Regions from separate parts of the Homo sapiens genome. Here region 1 is linked to region 2. Evidence: promoter capture Hi-C in human tissues and cell types (Jung and others, 2019). All regions are on one chromosome and are shown on one strand. Each heading gives the region's core, a stretch centred on a gene start or on the middle of the fragment in contact. The rest is flanking DNA. Distances are from core to core; before and after follow the strand shown. Region 1 has its middle 700 kb from the start of ANKRD7. Region 2 holds the start of KCND2 (potassium voltage-gated channel subfamily D member 2).

What was found. Contacts are between HindIII fragments. The study calls those that stand out against the background at their distance.
Region 1: a fragment that was not itself captured here is called in contact with the fragment with the promoter of KCND2 in region 2 in 1 of the 25 tissues and cell types used here (mesenchymal stem cells).

Annotation. Positions count from the first base shown.
Region 1 is chr7:118,919,896-118,925,925 of GRCh38, reverse strand. No RefSeq gene overlaps it. Among named protein-coding and RNA genes, the nearest start is that of ANKRD7, 700 kb to the right of the region's middle. The HindIII fragment of the contact is 3,752 bases long and covers 762-4,513 here.
Region 2 is chr7:120,270,606-120,276,026 of GRCh38, reverse strand. KCND2 (potassium voltage-gated channel subfamily D member 2) reads right to left here and starts at 2,852. Exons shown (of 6, transcript NM_012281.3): 1 at 280-2,852. The coding sequence starts at 1,394. RefSeq lists an enhancer at 2,087-2,156 and silencers at 2,597-2,746, 3,666-3,765. The HindIII fragment of the contact is 5,227 bases long and covers 1-3,901 here.

The DNA.
Region 1 (6,030 bases), core at 1,388-3,887, 1.3 Mb after region 2:
AAAGCCTCCTTTATCTGGTGATAATATACTGTGGCATAATGATCTACTGTTGTAACATCAGCCCTCTAGCATGGAAAAGCTTTTATACAACCAGAAAACATGAATTAAACATGACAACTGAATGAAATCCCTCTATAAATGTTTAAATGGCCCATCAAGTAGCCGAATATACCTAAAGTTTTGATTGTCTTCCCAGGAATAAGTGTTTGACAAAGCAAACATTGGCCATAAACTATTTTAGCAATTTAGAAGTTACCACACTAATATATACATTTAATTTGGATAATTTTATCTTTTCCATGAAGAATCGTGGAATGCAGAACTTTTAATAACAAAAGTTTTAATGACTCAGGAAAACACTAATCGTAAACTCTTTTAGTAATTTAGAAGTTATCACACTAATATATATATTTAATTTGGATATTTTTTTCTTTTCCATGAAGAATCATGGAATGCAGAACTTTTAATAACAAAAGGTTTAAGGACTCAGGAAGGGCAAGGTGGTCATCCTGGTTCTTCATGAGTTCATGCTTAACACTGAACTTACGTCCTTTTGAATGCCAGTTGTTTCTCCAATTTAGGTGCATAGCACTTATAATTGATGGGTTATCATAGGTAATTTTACTGAGATCTTGTTGTTCATTGAAATTGTATATATAAACAATTTCAGTACTGGCTGATTTAGCAGGAAAATCTGGCAAAGTATTTTCCTGGTATTCTATTAATTTTTGTCTTGCTTGTGATAGCAGTTTATAAACCAGTTAATCTCTTTATTCAAGTTTCAGGAATTCTTAAAGTCCAAATAATATAATTCTAATGTGATCAAAAACCCATATTCTAGAGCGTTTCTCAGGGTCTTTTTCATCCGTTCATAAATGGACTTCCTCAAATACCCCATATTCTAGGATTTTGTGTGCTTGCAAAGTTTTCAGAAACTGCAACAGAGAGAAGCAATTAACTGTGGAAATGACTTTAAGTAGTCACAGTTAAAGACACAGTTGGCAAGGAAATTTGGTTATTTCTGTGGTCTACAATAACTTCATATAATAACCATAATTATGATTGATAGCACATATTCAAACATATCAGAATTTTAGAAATCCCATTCAATTTTGGAATGTATATTAATAACTTCATTAAAATATAATCTGAAGAAGGTTAAACATTATTTCATATTTGACAATGCACCCCATGTAAATTAATATGTCAAATAATCCTGTTTACCTCTCTTTTAAATGCTTCATGGGCCCTCTGTAACATCCCGAAGTTAGAGGTCGACAAAGACTTAGTTTTGAAGAAGAAATTTGATTTTGGGAAGCCTTTCAAATGTGTTAAAGGCTTAAAGCATTAGACCAAAATAGTATCACAAATCACCATAAAACAATAGTCATTCATTCAACCAAAGTGATAATTAAAATATTTGTAAAAGCAAATACCTATAAGCTTTGAAAAAGGACACTCAGTTTTCCAGTCAGAAGACTTAAGACAGTATAAAATAGAATCTATCTATACTTCTTTCCTCTCTTTCTTCTTCGTCTTTTTGCAGTTTACTCAAAAGACAAAAATATTTTACTGTGTCTTGTTAATACTAAAGAAAATTTTGTTCAAAACAGAAAACTAGATTTTAATGTCATATTAGTGTATCAATACTAAAACTAATTTTAATAAGACTTCATAAATAAATTTATCAAATATGTCATCTTTTGAAAACAAAATTTGCATAAGACTTTTGTTTTACATGTTTCCCTGACTTTCTATAGTCATTTTGATTTATTTTTTATTTCTTCCATTTGAAAACTTTAAATAACTTCAAACCAAAGTTTTTAACACACACTTTTGTTCTTTAATAAATTTATTCATCAAAAACATATATTGCTTTTGTTTATAGACTCTGTATACAGAATTGTTTCTTTAATATCTAGTAGTTTTTAAATCTTAGTAATCCTAGTATGTAGTGAAAACCCTAGAAAGCAATTTTGAACTGTTTTATATCAGTATTTGTGGAAAAAATATAATTTTTTAGAAAAATAGTTCTTCAAATTATTGTTTATTAACAGTCTATACATATTTAGCTTTTCTATACCATATAAAAGTAATATCAAAATACATAGATTTAGACTCATGTTTAATAATTAATATTTCAGTATCTTAACTTACAGATGAGTCAGATATTTTATGATTATTTATTACTTAACCTTTTTCCCATTTAGAAAAAAGAAGCACAGCTTGCTTGTAGCGCTCATTTAATTTTACGAAAACATGCTCCTTGAAGCTGAAGCAAATCTAACTGATTTTCAACATGACAATAAAATATAAAAACTGTTTTTGGAGTTCTTTCTAAACAGATCTGTCTAAACAGATGACATCAGAATCATCTGAATCATCAGAATGGTCTATTTTGGAAAAATTGGATTCATCAAATTAATCTTTGTCTAACAACTGTGCAAGAATGATGTTAACGTTACATGTAGTAATGCTACGTTTTCTAGGATTTGACATTTTCAGCAATTGAGAATTACTATATTTTGTATATGGAAATACCACTACTAAAAACAGAATGCTATAAATAGAATGATTTTTTTATTTGCAAAGTCAATATGCTTGAGAAATTTGAAAATAATAACAAAAGTGAGATATTTCATGGCAAAATTATCTCGGGGTAAATGCTCCAGCTACAAGCACCACTGGTGAGTATACTTGGGGTAAATGGGAAAAAGGTTAATTTAACATAACATAATTCTAAGATTTTAAATTACTGAAAAGAATGTTGATACTATGACACGGGTAGCCTCCCTAATGTCTTTCTCCAGTCATTGTACGTTTCAAGTAACCACGTGGCACCCAGGAGGACTATGAAAGTCAGGACTATAAGAACAGAAGCTGTGAAGACTATATCTGGAGGATACAACCCCTCTCAAAATAGCTAGGAGGTGAAATCAGAAAAGCAGAGAAAGAAAGGGCTAAATTTGGCTCGATTCTGGCTTATAACTGCTGGTCTAGGCACTAAGAACATGTCTCCAGATTTCGTTATGGCCACCTATCCAGAACCCTGAATCCAGCGACTGTAAACCAAAGACGTAAGTTCACAGTCAAATCAAGCAAGTATCTAATTACAATTAACTAATAATTTTGAAGCCATTTATATTGTACCAATAATTTTAAAACTAGCTTTATTAACCAACTATCACATACATATAATACATAGAGACATACAAACACACAGGAGCAGATCTCATAGCTCTCATAAAGGATTTCCATTTACCAGCTTTTAAATATTTTTTTTTCTTTTCCCCACTCGGTCTATCAGTCTTCCAGTTACCTGTTTCATTGCCATAAGCAATTGCTAACTAGGCAACAAATTTGCATTTCTAAAAGAAAAACTTTTAGATGGAACAAAAAATTTTATATTTTGTAAGCACAGACCTAAGATTTCAGGCCTAAATATTGTATCATCATTTGCTCAAACCAAGGGGAAAAAAACTGCTCAAGTAAAAGCTCGCTTAAGACAAGATGGCCAGAAAAGCACCTTAAAGAAACATATTACTTAATATGTAAATTTAAAAGACTGGTAAGATTTTTGAATATGCAATAGCAGATATCCGTAAAATTGGAGATTTCCTTGATAAATGTGAATTTCTTTTGCAAAAGAGTTTCAAGATAGCCAATTAAATTTCAGAAAGGTGTATTTTACTTTAGTAGGGTATTTTAGTTTAGTAGGGTATTCTTTTTTAACTTACATACTGTTTCTTAGCTAAAATTACTAAGTTCAGTATGCAGCCCTTCAATTAGGGACAGGAAAGCATTCTTAAGGCCTCAGGATGGATGTATCTATAAAAGAAGCAAGCCTATTCTACCTGTGAGCCTACCTTTTATAAACACCTTATCTAGGATAGCTTTCTTTCCACCTTTGGGGTGGGATACCAACTAAGCCAAAAGGTTAGTAGTTTTAATTTTTCTTATCAATCAGTTGCTTAAGCTTGTTATTTGCTTTTCATAAAGTCTTTAAATAAAAATAAAATACTTAATAAAAAATGAAATGCTTTTTGAAGCTTCTGCATATCAATACAAATCTCTAGATGAGAATAATTTGGGAGTCTTCATTTTCAAATGTACTTCTTCAGTGCTGTGTTGCTTATTTGGAATGTTCCACTGTAACTTTATATTTTAGTAAGATTTTACTGTTTCCGTAAGACTTGCTGCTTCTGGGGCCCTAATAATTATGCATGTATAAGCTAGAAGGAATTCAGATCTTCAGAAATTATGCATCCCATTTTTACTTCAAATATTGGCTTTGTCTCTCGGGTTCCCTTGATCAACTTAGCCAATGATATTTTTTCCTTACCTAAGTGATATGGTTTGACTGTGTCCCCACCCAAATCTCAACTTGAATTGTAGCTCCCAGGATTCCCATGTGTTGTGGGAGGGATCCAGGGGGAGGTAATTGAATCATGGGGGCCGGTATTTCCCATGCTTTTCTCAAGATAGTGCATAAGTCTCACAAGATCTGATGAGGTTATCAAGGGTTCCCACTTTTGCTTTTTACTCATTTTTCTCTTGCTGCCAGCATGTAAGACGTGCCTTTCACCTCCTGCCATGATTCTGAGGCCTTCCCAGTCATGTGGAAATATAGGTCCAATTAATCCTCTTCTTCCCAGTTTCCAGTATGTCTTTACCAGCATCATGAAAACAGACTAATACACTAAGCATGCAATAAAAATAAACAAATGGATAGAATACAAAAATCCCTGCAAATTTTCAAAAGACAATACTTACACCATCTGCAATATTTTCACTTACTGTCAGTTTATTTCTGATCCATTCAGATGTAAGAGACCTCTAACTGAATCCAAGCTAATTAATTATCAGATCCAGTCCAATCTTGAGCCCACTCCTATTTCTGTCATTACTTCCAAACCCAATTTGGATCAGAGATTTGCTCAAAGAAACCTGGAGAGCTCAAAACACAAATCTATGAAGCTTCAGAATCCAAGAGAGCACTTATCACAATCCTCAGTTGTTCTGAGAAAACAATGGACACAATGGGTCTGATGGGTACCTCACTTTGTCACTTGGCACTCCTGAGGGTTGCTAAAAGCTCTACTTTGTATCCCACTTCTGACACCATCTGTTCAAAAAAAAAAAAACTGTAGCTGAATTAAATTTAAAAGAGCTTAATTGAGCAAAGAGCAATTTGTCAATTGGGCAGCCTCCCAAGCCAGAGTAGGCTCAGCAACTACAGCACAACCACATGATGGAAAAAGATTTATGGACAGAAAAAGGAAAATGAGGTACAGAAAATAGAAGTGAGGTACAGAAACAGCTGGATTGGTTACAACTCAGCATTTGCCTTATTTGAACATAGTTTGAACAGTTGGCCACATTTGATTGACCAAATCTCAGTGATTGGCACAAGATAGGCTATAGTCTGCTTATACCTCCACTGAGGTTATAGTTCATGATGTAAAGAGAAACCTTTAGGCCAAACTCCAGTATAGTCCTTAACATACTAATCATAACTTTTTAAATACCCTGTCTCATATCTGAATTCTGTGTCATAATTGAGTTGGGTTCTCATGACTTCTTTGTATCGTCAGCTTATGTTTTATTTTTTTCTCATTTTTGACATGTCTTTCACATGCTATATTACCCATACATATGGGTAATAGCGACTGAGATAGATTGTGAATAGCAGGATCTATGTTAATCTGGCTGTGGGTTGTTCTGTACTTAATGTTTGTTGTGGCTATAGGTGCCAGATGCTTCAAGTTCTGTAGTGTGTTTGTTCTTGTCAACATTTTTGTCTTTGGGCTTCCCTTTGTACCTCTCCTCATAAACAGAGTCTGAATCTTACAGTTCTTTAAGTTGTTATGCTGGAGCCCAGGTGGTATTAAGTTTGGGGGAGGAAATGCATTCTAAAATCATCTGAATAAATCTGTCTTTCATTGTGCCTATGTCTTGAGCTTGTGAGTTTCTCAAGTATTTGTTCGAAGGTATTGCATTATTTTCTCCCAACCTCCTACTCCTTTCAGT
Region 2 (5,421 bases), core at 1,603-4,102:
ATATTGCTACTACTTTCATATATTCAGGAATTCTAAAATTTCTTTGTATCTTTATCACTTTCAGGCATCAACATTTGCCAGCAATGCCTTAATACTTCAACGTGTGTATTATACCCATTTCACAGATGAAAAGAGTTTTGCCAAACCATTTAGATAATGCTTTCCTAAACTCAGGAAAGAAAACAAATGATTTCCCCGGAGTTACCATGTAACCTCGATGGGTCCACAATCGCCTCACCCATACCCAACCTCCATCCCATTTCCCATTATGGCACCTACCCTAGTGTTGTCATGGTGACGATGGTATACCAGAAGGCTGCAGGGATGCTGGTGAACTTGCTAGCCGAAGACCCCTTCTCTGCGTAGAACATAACTGTAGCGAAGATGATGATAGCCATGGTGAGCGAGAAAAGCAAGAAGCCCAATTCTGAGGCACAACTCTTCAGTGTGTACCCCAGGATGCGCAGGCCTTGAGAGTGGCGGGAAAACTTAAAGATCCTGAAGACCCGGAAGACTCGGAGTGTGACAAAGGCTCCGCTGACGTCCTCATTGTCTGTCATCACCAGCCCAATGTAATAAGGCAGGATGGCCACCACGTCGATGATACTCATGACACTACGCACAAAACGGTAACGACTAGGCGCTGCAGCCAGGCGAAGCAAATACTCAACTGTGAAGATCATGACGCAGGCCGTGTCCAAGCAGAAGAAGGCCACAGCATACCGCTCTCCACAGGGCAGTTCTTTAATGTGACCTGGGCTTGATCCGCACGGCACTGTTTCCACCACATTCGCGATGACAGAGACGGCAATGAAAAACCCCGTGACATAGTAGAACACCAGGGCCATCGTGCTGGTGTGGGGGTTCTCGAAGGCCCTCCAGACCCTCTGCCTTGCAGTCATGGTGGGCAAGGCGCTCTCCCCAGCGGTGTCGGTATCCGCGTCGTCCTGCAGGCGCTCGGCGTTCTCTCGCCTGCGATCCTTGTACTCCTCATAACAGCAGTCGCCGATGATTTCCGGGATGAGGCCAAAGAAGGCCAGTTCTTCATCGTAAGCAGAGATGCACTCGTGGCGAGGATAGTGGAGCTTCCCAGTGCGGTAGAAATTCAGGATGTGGCGGAAGATGTCTGGGTCACGGTCAAAGAAATACTGCTGAGTTTCTGGGTGGTAGAAAAAGTCCCTCTCAGAACTGCCCAGTAGAGTGTCTGGGTAACGTTCCAGGGTGTCCTGCCACGTCTGGAAGCGGGTGCCACTCACATTCAGCACAATGAGAGCATCTTGGGTCCTTTTCCTCTCCTGCCTCGGGGGAGCCGGCATAGGCCCCGAGGCCACAGGCATCCACCCGATAGCCGCTGCCCTTGCAAAAGGCAGCCACGCTGCCACCCCCGCCGCCATGATTACTTGAAGCGGAAGGAAGAAGGGTAACGAGGCGTCTACAATGGGTCACCGAAGCAGCCAAAAGTCACCCACTTCCTCCAGTCAAGCAAAGTACTAGTGAGAAACGTGGTCCAGAGGTGTAACTCTTATTCCAAGATAGGGCTCCTGGTAAAGTCACAGTTCTCAGAAGGGCAACTTTCCCTCCAAGACAGGTATTTGGAATAATGGCAACAAAATACAACGTCCTAACAATCACCCTCAACAGAACCCAGCCAAATCTCTTCCTGCAGGTGGGCTAGGCCACCCTCTGGCACAAATAAGCACACAGGTGCAGCCGTTTCTTCAAACAGGTGTTTTTGATTTCTCCCCGGCACAGTCTGGATAATATAGGGTCAGTATGTGGAGTGTAGGATAGAGAAGACGAACGAGAGTCACCCAATAGAATTCTTTCGACGAATTAGGGAACCCTTACACCTACCCTTCTCACTCTTTCAAACCTTCCTTTCCAAGTAGCCCTTCCCGCCAAAGGAGTCTCAAAAAGGCGACCTGTTGTTGTAGCTCAGGAGATGCGGTCACAGCCGCTGCCCCACGTCTCTCTTTGGGGGTCCAGCTGCTGCTGCCTCTACTCCTCGGGCTGTATTTGCAGAGATGGAGGTGATGTGCAGTGGTTACGGTGGGGGGCGTTAATAGAGATTCTCCTCCCCCACGTCTACAAACACCCTCTGTGTCTGCCAAAAGCGTTCGCCCAATCGCCCCTTCACTCTCTTTTCAAGTTCAGCTCAGGTGCAGTGTGACAGTTACAGAGCTCAGGAGCTGGCAGCCGCCGCCGCCGTGGCGGCAGCAGCATCTGCTTCCGCGCAGAACGCGCCGCTCCCGCGGTACATACCTGGCCAAGTGCGCGCCGGGGCTTAGTTGCATAGAGACTTTCTCCTCGCCGTGCACCCGGAAAGGGAAGAGGAGAGAAAGCAGCTCGCGAGCAGCCGAATCCGATGCGCCGAGAGAGCATAAATAAAGCTCAAGCGAGCTCTTCTTTCCCTTCCCCCATCCCTCCGTGCCTCCCTCCTCCTTTTCACCTTCCAAAAGCCAGGCGCAGGCGAGCAGAGCAGCAGCAACAAGTTCAAAAGGTGCGGGGGAGGCGAGAACGGAGGGGACTCGCTCCTGCCAACTTACTGCGGGGCCACTGTCGCGGGAGCCTGGCCAGCGCGGTGCGGGGCTGCGGGGCGGCGGGGCTGCGGGGCGGCCGGGCGGGCGGCGTTGGCGCGGTGGGGCCGGGGCCGGGGCCGGCACGGGCTCTCGTCCGAGCGCGGAGGCAGAAGGCGCTCGGCAGCGCGGGGGCGCGGGAGGGCTGCTAGCTGCTTCCCCGCCAGTGGGTGGTCCTGCATCTCCCCGGGCTCCCCGCGCTGCTCTGCTAGTGCGATCAATAAATAAGGAGAAAATAAATAAATAACCGCGCGCACGCCCCGCCACGCAGGTTAGGAAAGGCGTCTCCTGCCTTTCCCTCGGCTTGACCTTTCTCCGCCCCCGCCCCCTCGGGCTCCTCTCGCTCCACCCCAGCCACCCACCAACCCCGGCGCAAAATGTCACCGAGGGAGAGCATCCAGGTGGATCTGCTGGGGAGAAAAGCGAGCCTCGGATGAACAAAGGGAAGCTTCACGTGCTGGGCTGCGGTGGTTTGGTGGAGGAGAGGAGAAAGGGGACCCGTGCCTTGCTTCTGCCTCTCGAGTCCCGGTTCAAGGCGAGCGTGGGAAAATGGGGGGAAAGAGAGCGAGAGAAGCTGGGAAGGAGGGTGAGCGGAGCGGAATGCGCAGGAATTGGTTGTCTTCTGGGGGCGACTGGAAGGCAAGACCCGCAAAGCTCCGACGCGGAATTTTTAAGTGCATTTCCTCTTTCTGTTTTTATTTATTTTCAAAACCAGATTGTTAACGTTGCAGGGATTGATATGCCATCTGTCCAACTTGCCAAAAAATCAGAGACTCTCCTCGATCGAGGTCTTGACACAACTCCTTTTCCCGTCCTTTACGAATAACAGGGATGTGGAGCCCTTTTCTAAATGTCATCGTCAAGGGGCGTGCGTCTCTGAAAGTTTGCGTCCCCTTCATCCTCTCTGCGCATCACTGCGCATATTTAAAATAGTTAAAAGAGTTAAAGGTGTTCGTATGAGGGGTTACTGAGGTAGAGAGACACAGGAAAATTGTCGCTACCAACCTTTTTGTTTTTCGCGTACCCCGCCCCCGAGTCATTAGGAATCATCCTTAAAACCAAACGTAACACATACAAGCCACTAGATGGCGTGGATGGCGAGAAGTTAAATCTGCACCTAAGGTTTGGATGCTTTAGGAAGGTGAAGGATCAAAATTAACTGGTCCAACAGAGAGTCAGATCACATAAACATCCCCAAACCCCTTCGCTGCCACCCACCTTTTTTGTGTTTATGTGACATATACTACTTAGGCTTGAGTCTGCATTTGGATAGTTGTGGGATGAGATGTGGAGAGTTTCCTTTTGAAATTCCTTTGAAAATTAAATCTAGATTACTGAATCATCATCATCATAGTAATTAAGATCTTTGGCAATAATGAGGCTTCATCTGTATTGATGAAGAATAGTAGCCTAATTTCTACCTAAAAATTACTTTTCATGGCTTGGTTTGACTGCCCTTGGTTTGTAAAATAAGTGGACTGTGTGTTGTACTTTACGGAAATTGACTTTTAAGCCCTAGAGATTACAGGCATGATGTGTCAACCTTGAAAATTTGAAATGGGATACGTCAAAGAAAATATATAAACTAAAAAATGAGTATAGAAAATAACCAGAGAATTTAAAATATCCTTATCATGTACAGGATTTTCTGTAGAGATAAAAGGGTATTTTTTGTTTGTTTATTTGTTTACAGAATAGAGATTTAAGGAATCCTGTGTCAGTAGTAATGAAGTCAGAGCTAATGCACCATTTAAGTTTGAGGACAAGGAACTGAAGACACCTGCTCTTTATCTATTTGTTTAAGTGAAAGATGCTTGTTAACCAATCTATATAGCCTGCATACCTGAAAACAAACACACAAGCATGTTACCTGGAAAATGGAAATGAGGGGCTTACTACCAATTAATATAAGAAAACCAACCCCTCGTTAGTCCAAACAGTAAGGTGGCACTATGACAGGTGCTGGGCATGGAATCCAGAGGGTGGAGCGCCATGAATATTTAATCAATGCCAATAATGGCATGCTTTCCTGTAAAGATGGGGCGAGGAACCTAAATAGAGCCTTTAAAACTGTGTGGGAAACTGAATGCTTACAAATGTAAAAGTAGGAGCTTAACTCACAAAAGCCCCAAAGAAGCAAGAACATAATATGTACAGTTTTTAAGAAGGTACTGGGATCTGCCCTCCTGCATCTTCAACAAGCTTCTTGATATAGTGGAAAGAATGTGGGCTGAGAACTTAAACACATCTAAATTCAAAATCTTGCTTAAGAAATTACTTACTGGCTTTGTTTCATTTGGCAAATTACTTCTATGATTAGAAATTATAGATAATGAAATTTAACTTTTCAGGCCTGTCGTGAAGATGAAACAGGATCATACTTCTGAACACCAGTGAAATACTTAGCACATGAAGTGTACTCAATATTGGTTCTTTTTTATTGTAATGCATAATGCTAATGCAATTCATTTTATCCAGCCCGTATTTGGAATTCCCTTAGATACTTTCCATAGTTATGTATTGCTTAATGACAGGGATACATTCTGAGAAATGTGTCTTTAGGAGATTTCATCACTGTCTGAATATCATAGAGCGTACTTACACAAACTTAGGTGGTATAGCCTACTACACACCTATGCTATATGGTACAGCCTATTGCTCCTAGACTACAAACCTGCCATCATGTTACTGTACTGAACACTGTAAGCAATTTGTAACACAGTGGCAAGTATTTGAACCTCTAAACATATATATACACAGAAAAGTTGCAGTAAAAATACAGTATAAAATATTTTTAAGAACGGTACACCTTTATTTGGCACTTCCTATGAATGGAGCTTACAGA